2 separate regions of the Homo sapiens genome follow, and region 2 is linked to region 1. Evidence: promoter capture Hi-C in 16 types of primary human blood cells and fetal thymus (Javierre and others, 2016). All regions are on one chromosome and are shown on one strand. The core of a region is centred on a gene start or on the middle of the fragment in contact, and the rest is flanking DNA. Distances in the headings are between cores, read along the strand shown.

Evidence for each region. Contacts are between HindIII fragments. The CHiCAGO score rates a contact against its expected background, and 5 or more counts as called.
Region 2: the fragment with the promoter of MNT here is called in contact with a fragment that was not itself captured in region 1 in 1 of 17 cell types (naive CD4 T cells); the score reaches 5.4 in naive CD4 T cells.

What each region holds. Positions count from the first base shown.
Region 1 is chr17:1,676,076-1,679,841 of GRCh38, forward strand. PRPF8 (pre-mRNA processing factor 8) reads right to left here. Exons shown (of 43, transcript NM_006445.4): 9 at 3,534-3,724; 10 at 3,216-3,335; 11 at 2,942-3,131; 12 at 2,687-2,806; 13 at 2,443-2,577; 14 at 1,490-1,619; 15 at 901-1,097; 16 at 430-636; 17 at 132-295. Among named protein-coding and RNA genes, the nearest start is that of PRPF8, 6.9 kb to the right of the region's middle. The HindIII fragment of the contact is 3,942 bases long and covers 137-3,766 here.
Region 2 is chr17:2,398,877-2,402,642 of GRCh38, forward strand. MNT (MAX network transcriptional repressor) reads right to left here and starts at 2,184. Exons shown (of 6, transcript NM_020310.3): 1 at 1,764-2,184. The coding sequence starts at 1,836. RefSeq lists enhancers at 1-298, 106-250, 869-1,439, 2,730-2,779, 3,151-3,721 and 2 more, a cis regulatory region at 171-186 and silencers at 660-1,149, 1,670-1,729, 1,880-1,959, 2,150-2,459, 3,110-3,429. The HindIII fragment of the contact is 11,182 bases long and covers 1-3,754 here.

The sequences.
Region 1 (3,766 bases), core at 858-3,357:
GTGAATGGGAAAACTAGGAGGAAGTAAAACCAGGAAAGACTGGGGCTACACCTTCTTTCTTTGGACTCTGAGGATGACGCCATTCCCTGCTGTCACCTTCCCAGCAGGAACCTATCTACCCTACTACTCACCTATAAGCTTCCTTGAGCCGCTCCAATGCCAAGATGAGCAACTTGGTGTCATGCTTATAGGAGAGTGGGGGGAATGGGATGGGTGAAAACCTGCGGCTTTCCAACCAATGCACTGTGGTGGTATATACTGCCACTGCTTCCTCCGCTGTGATGTAAGGCCCGTCCTGTAAGGTGGACATGAAATTAGCCTCCCGCTACAGCCCGATCCTGCCAGAACAAGGTTCAGTCACAACTCTACAGTCCTCCCTCTTGCCCACTCCCCCACCACTCACACCCAGCCCAGCCTACTCTGCCCAACCTTCAGGTAGTTGTGCTGCCGCTCCTGTTCTGCCTTCAGATAGAGCCGGGTGAGGCGGCCCAGATTCTTTTTACAAACAGTCTTGTCCACAGTGGCCCCTCGGCGGATCCGTTCTCGGTTGTAGTGGGCAGTGTTGGTCCACCAGTCAGCCTTGGCCTTCACGTATCGAAGGATCATATTCTCTATGGGCGTCGGCAGCCCAGGGACCTAAAAGTCCAAAAAGCACAATCAAGCCAGGATCCAGCCAGGCACTGTGGCACACATCTGTAGTCCCGGCTACTCAGGAGGCTAAGGAGGATCGCTTGAGCTCAGGAGCTTGAGGCCAGCCTAAGCAACATGGTGCTTCTTTTCCCTGTCTAAAAGGGAAAAGAAAAGAGATTGGAGCCAGATAGCCCCCTAATGATTCCCGAAGTGGTAATCCTACCCTAAAGACGGATGTTTACGCCTCCAAGGAAATAAAGAGACACCCACCTTCCAGGGAATGTTGGCTTTCCAGCAGCGCCAGGCTTCACTGAGGTGCTGCAGGATTGTCCGGGCCTTGTTCTGCTTGATCCCCTCAGGCATCATGTCCAGAATATCATGCATCACAGCTGCCCGCAGCTCAAGGTCAAAATGTGACTCCACTCGCTGCTTTGTTACTGTCTTTGCCACCCCCTTTGAGTGTCGACCTGGAAGTAGAGTGTCCCAAGGGGATTACAAGGAAGATTCCTTGCTTTCAATAAGGGTCTCTACCTTCATGCTCCTCACTCATTATGGTTATTAATAAAATTAGGTATTAACAAAGCGTCCCTGTGCCCAGCATATGCAAAAAGACGAGCTACCTTAAACATTCACAACTATGCTTCTGAGGAATTTCCACTCCTGCAAATGCATGACTGCCTCTCAAGGCCCCAGAAGGAAGCCCAAGAAATAGAATACTAGGTCAGACTCATTTCAGAACTGGACCTAAAGGCAATCCAGTAGGAAGAGTGCTCATACAAGAGCAGGGAACAGACTCAAACAGGGGCAGGTACTTTTGAAGCAATAACAGGAGAAGTTGGACACAGAGAAAACCACTCACCTTCAAACTGCCGGGCCAGGAGGTTGCCAAGCCATCGCTCTAATAAAGGGGTAATGCCACGCATGAAAAAGAGCCAGACTCGCCAACCGGCAGCCCAGAAGCCACAGCCAGGACCCTTCCCTACAGGGCCCTACGATCCCAAGCAGAAGTTAAGAATACAAGTTAGCAATGCATTTAAACAACAATAGAAACCTGGGCAGAGGTGGGGCATATATGTATAATATACATACAGAGGAATGTAGGTATGGCAGTAGAGGGGTAAAAAGAAAAAAAAACTCTGGGACCTCAACATCTAAAACAAAAGGGTAAATGAGAAACCTTAAGGCAAAAACCAGGAACTAAGATCGCCCATGTGAATTTAAAGGAGCAGTAAGGACACAGTCATAGCTGCTCTCCAAATAGGTCCCTGGAAAGAGCCCTGTCTAAATGTATACATGAAAAAAGATCTGAGAAAGTTAAGTCCAGTGAGGCTGGGCACGGTGACTCACGCTGGTAATCCCAGTACTTTGGGAGGCCGAGGAGTGTGGATCACCTGAGGTCAGGAGTTCAAGACCAGCCTGGCCAATACAGTGAAACCCCATCTCTACTAAAATTTCAAAAACTAGCCAGGCATGGTGGTGCGCGCCTGTAGTCCCAGCTACTTGGGAGGCTGAAGCAGGAGAATCACTTCAACCCGGGAGGCGGAGGCTGTGGTGAGCCAAGATCGTGCCATTGTACTCCAGCTGGGGCAACAGAGAAAGACTCAGTTTCAAAACAAAACAAAAAAAAAATTGCCAGGCGTGGTGGCGGGCACCTGTAATCCCAGCTACTCGGGAGGCTGAGGCAGGAGAATTGCTTGAACTCAGGAGGCGGAGGTTGCAGTGAGCCAAGATCGTGCCATTGCACACCAGCCCAAGAGACAAGAGTAAGACTCTGTCTCAAAAAAAAGAAAGTCAGTAAAGTCAAGGTCTCACCGTGTTGAAACGATAATAGATGAGATGCTTCAGGTCCTTGCACATGCGAATCTGTCGCATCAGCTTGTATTTGTATCGATACATGCCCGTCAACTGCCCAACATGGGCAAATATATACTGCAATCCATCTGCCAGCTGCAATACAATTGCCCCATCAGACCTGGAGCTTAAACCAGCTCCACGGTCAGCACAGGCTTCCTCCAGCGTCCTCACCCAGGCAGGGGTTGGGAATACCTAACCTTACCTGGAAGGCATCCACATTGCCCAGCCGATACTGCACGTGACTATCCACCACCAGCTTAGTCAAACGCAGAACTTCCCGACACAGGTGGAAAGCATTCCCAAAACGAGATTTCTTTCTTTCCTGGAGAAGATGCAAAAAACAGACAGAACGTGAATGAGCAATGGACCCAACTGATGTATGCCTTCATCAGTAACCAGAGGAAAACAACTGTCCGTCCTTGAAGCCCAGGAGGCCCCTAGGGTCCAATGCAGGCACCTTGGTGGTGAGCGTTTTCACAGGCTTGAGGTTGAAGTTGTAGTCCAGGTGCAGGTAGTTGAGGTTTTTGCGGTGAATGAGAAGGTTGAGCATGTTGTAGCCCTGGCGGCAAACCTGGAGCCCAACCTCCACCCAGTCCAGCTTTGTGGACTGAAAGAATTTGGTGGCTTTGAAGGAGCGGAACAAATACCTGAGGTGGGAACATGGAGAGTAAGAGTCAGCCTACTGATATCTCTGGAACAGAAGTCTGCGCAGGGCCCCTGGGGCACCTTACCTCTTCTTTTGAGCCTTAGGGGGCCGATGCTTCAGGGCATTCAGCACATAGTACTTAAGCAGCTTCTGGTAGGAGACCCTCACTTTCACAGGCTGCCCGGCAGGACAATGCTCCCGATACCTGGAAAAATAAGCCCACCAGAGTTTGGCCATCTCTTCTTCCAGACACTCTGCTAAAGGCTGCAAGCCTTGGGTTGTCTACCATTTTTATGGGAAAAAAAAAAAAAGAATTTAAAAAAAAGGCTACATGCCCACCTAGTTGGAGTCTTTTCTCCTACACATCCACTATCATTCCCCCTGCCACAGGGAAAAACCTTACCAGTTCTTGACAAGGGGTATGTCCAGGGCCCGACGGGTGCGACCAGAGCGTAGGTTGAAGGGCCGCGGGGCCCAGAGCAGGGCAATGCCATTGGCTGTATTGTCTGTATAGAGGGGTGTGTCCTTCAGGAAGGGCTCCACAAACTCCGGGAGCTCAAATTCCTCATCATCATCCGGCAATGGTTCCTGGCTCTGAAAAAGGAATCCCTCTAAGGGTTTAGCTCCTGCTGAACT
Region 2 (3,766 bases), core at 934-3,433, 720 kb after region 1:
ATCACTTCTGCAAAACCCAGGCATCTGAGCCTCACATATCTCCAGTGACTCTTGACCTTGAGAGGCCGGTCGCCCCGACTAGGCCGCCGGCCCCGCAGCTCCCCCGCCCCTTGCCCGCTGCCGCTCCCCCCTTCCCCCACCCCCGCCCGCCGCGGCGGCGGCACACGGCGGCGCGCGCGCACACAACACACTACTACCTCCTGCATGACTCATCATTGAAGCAACAATAGGCAGAGAGAAAGGAAAGGAGGGCGAAGCACTCTCCAACACAACCAACCCTGCCGGGGGATTCTGGGGGGCGGGGAGGGCACAGGAGTCCCCGGGTCCTGCACACACACCGTTCCAGAGCCGAGGCCCTGGCAGCACCCTGGAAAAGGGAGGTCTTTCCCGCCAGCCCCTCTGCAGCACCCTGAAGCCAGGGACCACCAACAGGGCGCGTGAAGATAGGAGTCATTAGTCTCTTCCCTTTCGAGGGAGCGCCGAAGTTTGCCCTTTCTCATCCTGGCTCATTCCAGCGTGGCCCCGGCTGATGCCAGGGGGCATAGTTGGAACGTTTTGGGGGTCAGTGGAAAAATGTGAGCTCTAAATGTCTCGTCGCCCTGCGATTCTGAGGGTTTCCCTTGCCTCGGGATCAAACACAGGAGGTTAGGGGCCAGAGCCGACAGGTGAGCTCGGCTCCTCCCTCGCAGGGCAAAGGCTCTCCCTGGGAGGTGCCCAGAGGCCGGGGCCCGGGCCCAGGCCCAACCCAGCGCAAGGCCCCTTGCCAGCCCCGCCCAGGCCCCGCCCCCGGCCGAGCGCGAGGCGGTGAGGAGGGGCCGGGCCGCGCCGTCCCCAGCAGGAGTGTCCCCGGTGCACGTGGTCGGGGGCGGAGCCCGTCCACGTCACCACCCGGTGTAACCAACGGGCTCGGAACGCAGGCACACGCAACATTCCAGGCGAGAGCGGGTTTGGAACGCGCAGACACGCCACATTCCACACTGGCTAAAGCGGGGCGCAGCGAGGGGGGCCCGGGGGCTGACCCCCAGCGACCCGCGGGCCATTTCGCAAACGCCCAATTAGCCCGGCTTTCACCCAAACCCCGGACGCGCAGCCCAGCCCAGCTCTGGGAGGCGGGGTCAGGCGGGGCTGGCCAGGATCATAAGACACGCGATGTCATTTCATTCTGCAAAGGCCGCCTCCGCCCCAAGCGGCGCGTAGATCTGCCGGGAGCGCCCCCCGCACCCTCCCCACGGGGCCAGGGAAGCCGAAGAGCTGCTCCGCGTAGAGTAGTCCCCACCCCCACTCCGTTACACACACGCCCACTCGTGTGCTATACACACGCCCGTGTACACGTCCGTTCATCTGCTCTTCCCGAGGCTCACATCACACATCCCCCGTGCACACACGCACGCACACGCGAGCCTGCCACCCCCACGCAACACCATTCCTCACCCCACCCCCCGGCTCACACATCCTCAGTGCCACCGAGGGCTCCGCTGGCCCACGCAAAAGCAGCCCACCACAGAAGGGGCACAGGGGTGCCACGCAGCCGGGGTGGCGCCCGCAGGAGCCAGGTCCCTCGCAGCATGTTAATGAATTCATTAATTAATTTCACTGCCCACATCACCCCTCCCCAGGCGGCGGCTCTCGCGGGGAGCCGTGCGCTGCCAGGCTCCGCAGGCCGCCCGGGAGGGGGCCCTGTCCGCGGTTTCGCGTGGGTTCGGGGACCGGGGTCACTCGCTTCCCCTTCCCCAGTGCCCCAGGGGCCCAGCCCGGCCGCTCACCACGTGCTCTCTGTTGTTGCTGCGCTTGCCATTCCAGGAAGCGGGCCGCCTCCAGTAGCGTCTCTATGCTCATCGCGCCGAGAGCTGCCGGGGGCGCGCCGGGGCCGAGGCTGCGGCCCGCGAGCCGGGCACAGGTCAGGCTGGCGGGCAGGCAGGAGGGAGGGATCACCTCCGGGGGGCGACAGGGCTGGGCGGCGCAGCGCACTCCGCAGGGAAGAACGGGGGAGCACGGGGAGAAAAATCAATGTCTCTCAAAATATTTGCAAAATATAAAATTGCAAATTTAAAAAAATGGGATGCAAAAAAAAAAAAAAGGCGGCACTGCCTCCCTTCTTCCCCTCCCTCTCTACCTCCCTTCCGATGCCTCCCGCCCCGCGGCCCCCGGGAGTCCCGCCGACAAGAAAGGGCTTTGCAACAAGATGGCGAGGAGGCACCGACACACACAACAAGGGAAGGAGCCGCGCTGCCCCCGGCCGCCGCCCCCGCTACTACACCGGGGCCACAGCCAAAGCCCGGACCGGAGCCCCCGCCCGCAGGGCCGCGGCGTCTCGCGAAGGGAGGGGCGGGTCCTGCGCTGCTGGCCCCGCCCCCCGGATCCGGCGCGCGCACACGTGGCCCGGGCAGGGAGGGAGAGGTCCGAGCGGGGTGTGCGCGCCGCGGTTCCGCTTTCCTGCTGGCCCCGCCCCGGCTGCAAGCCACAAGTTGGGCCGGGGCGGTGCGTTTGGGTCGTTCACGACGAAATCTGTCCTGCTGGAGGGAGGGTAGGGTGAACAATTCAAGATTTAACAGAGTTCCAACCAGGATATTCCGGGTCAGGGAAACCTTGGGAATGGCAGAGACTGGCCTGACCCTGGGTCTCCACGCTCCACCCACTCGCGACCTAAATCCCGCAATCGCCGGGCTGTCGCAATTCCCCCGGGATCCGCCCCTGGGCGGAGCTGCCGGCGACTGGAGACTGTCAAGAGAACCAGCGGAGGGAGCGGAGCGGCAGTCCGGCTCCGCGTTTTGTCTCCGTTCCTCCCCCCGCAGTGCGTTCGCATCCTATTAGGGGACGTCACCGGGCCGCGAGCCAATGGGCGGGCAGGACAACACGGCATGGAGCAGCTCCACATGGACACCCCGCGCCGCCAGCCTTCGGTTTAAAGGGCCAGTGTCTGCAGGTCACATTCGCGGGTGCGGATGGGGCCACTGGGCGAACCCAGGGTGGGATGCCGTAAGGGGAATCCCGCAGTCGTGCCCTGGCCTCTCCATTCCTTTTCACCACCTTCCATTTAAAACCAGGCCTTTATCTTTCCTTCCCCTGAACTCCAGTCTTTGTCCACGCGTATTCGATGTGGGTGGAGATACGGACTGTGCCACCCCATGGGCCACCCTTTCCTCTGGGGCCGGGGCCAGGGCGGGGAACACGAAGCGCCCGCAGCCCAGACCGGGGGGCGTGGCCCAAATCGGGAACAACAACGTGGAGGGCGGAAGCCCGGCCCTCCCCGCGCCTGGCGACCGGCGGTGGGCGGGGCGCGGGGGCGGGGTCCGCTGCGGCCGGCTGGAACCGCGCTCCCCAGAGGGAGGGACCCCCCGTCGCCCGCCCGCCCGCCCGCGTCTTCCGGGCTCGAGTGTTTAGGGGAGCTCGGGTGCAATCGGAGAGTTAGCTCTTTGAGGCCGGCTGCCCTTAAATCCTCTCACTTCACACATAAGGAAACTGAGGCCGTGACGGCCAAGGACTCGCCTAAGGTCGTTCCGTATTCCACCTGCTCCTCTCTCCCGAAGCGGGGGCACTCTTCCCTGACCCCAGGGACGACTCTGAAGCCAGTTCTGGAGGAGGGCCCCCAATTAGAAAAATGCCAGGGAGGAATAGCAACCCTGACCACTTAACACACTGTGATTGGGGCAACAAAAATCTTCACCTGAGACCCAACTCCGCTGTTCTGCTTCCTCGGTGGAAGCCACACGAACCCCACTGGTACAGCGGCAGCGATAGACCCCAGGCGGCTGAAAGCTTATTTGGA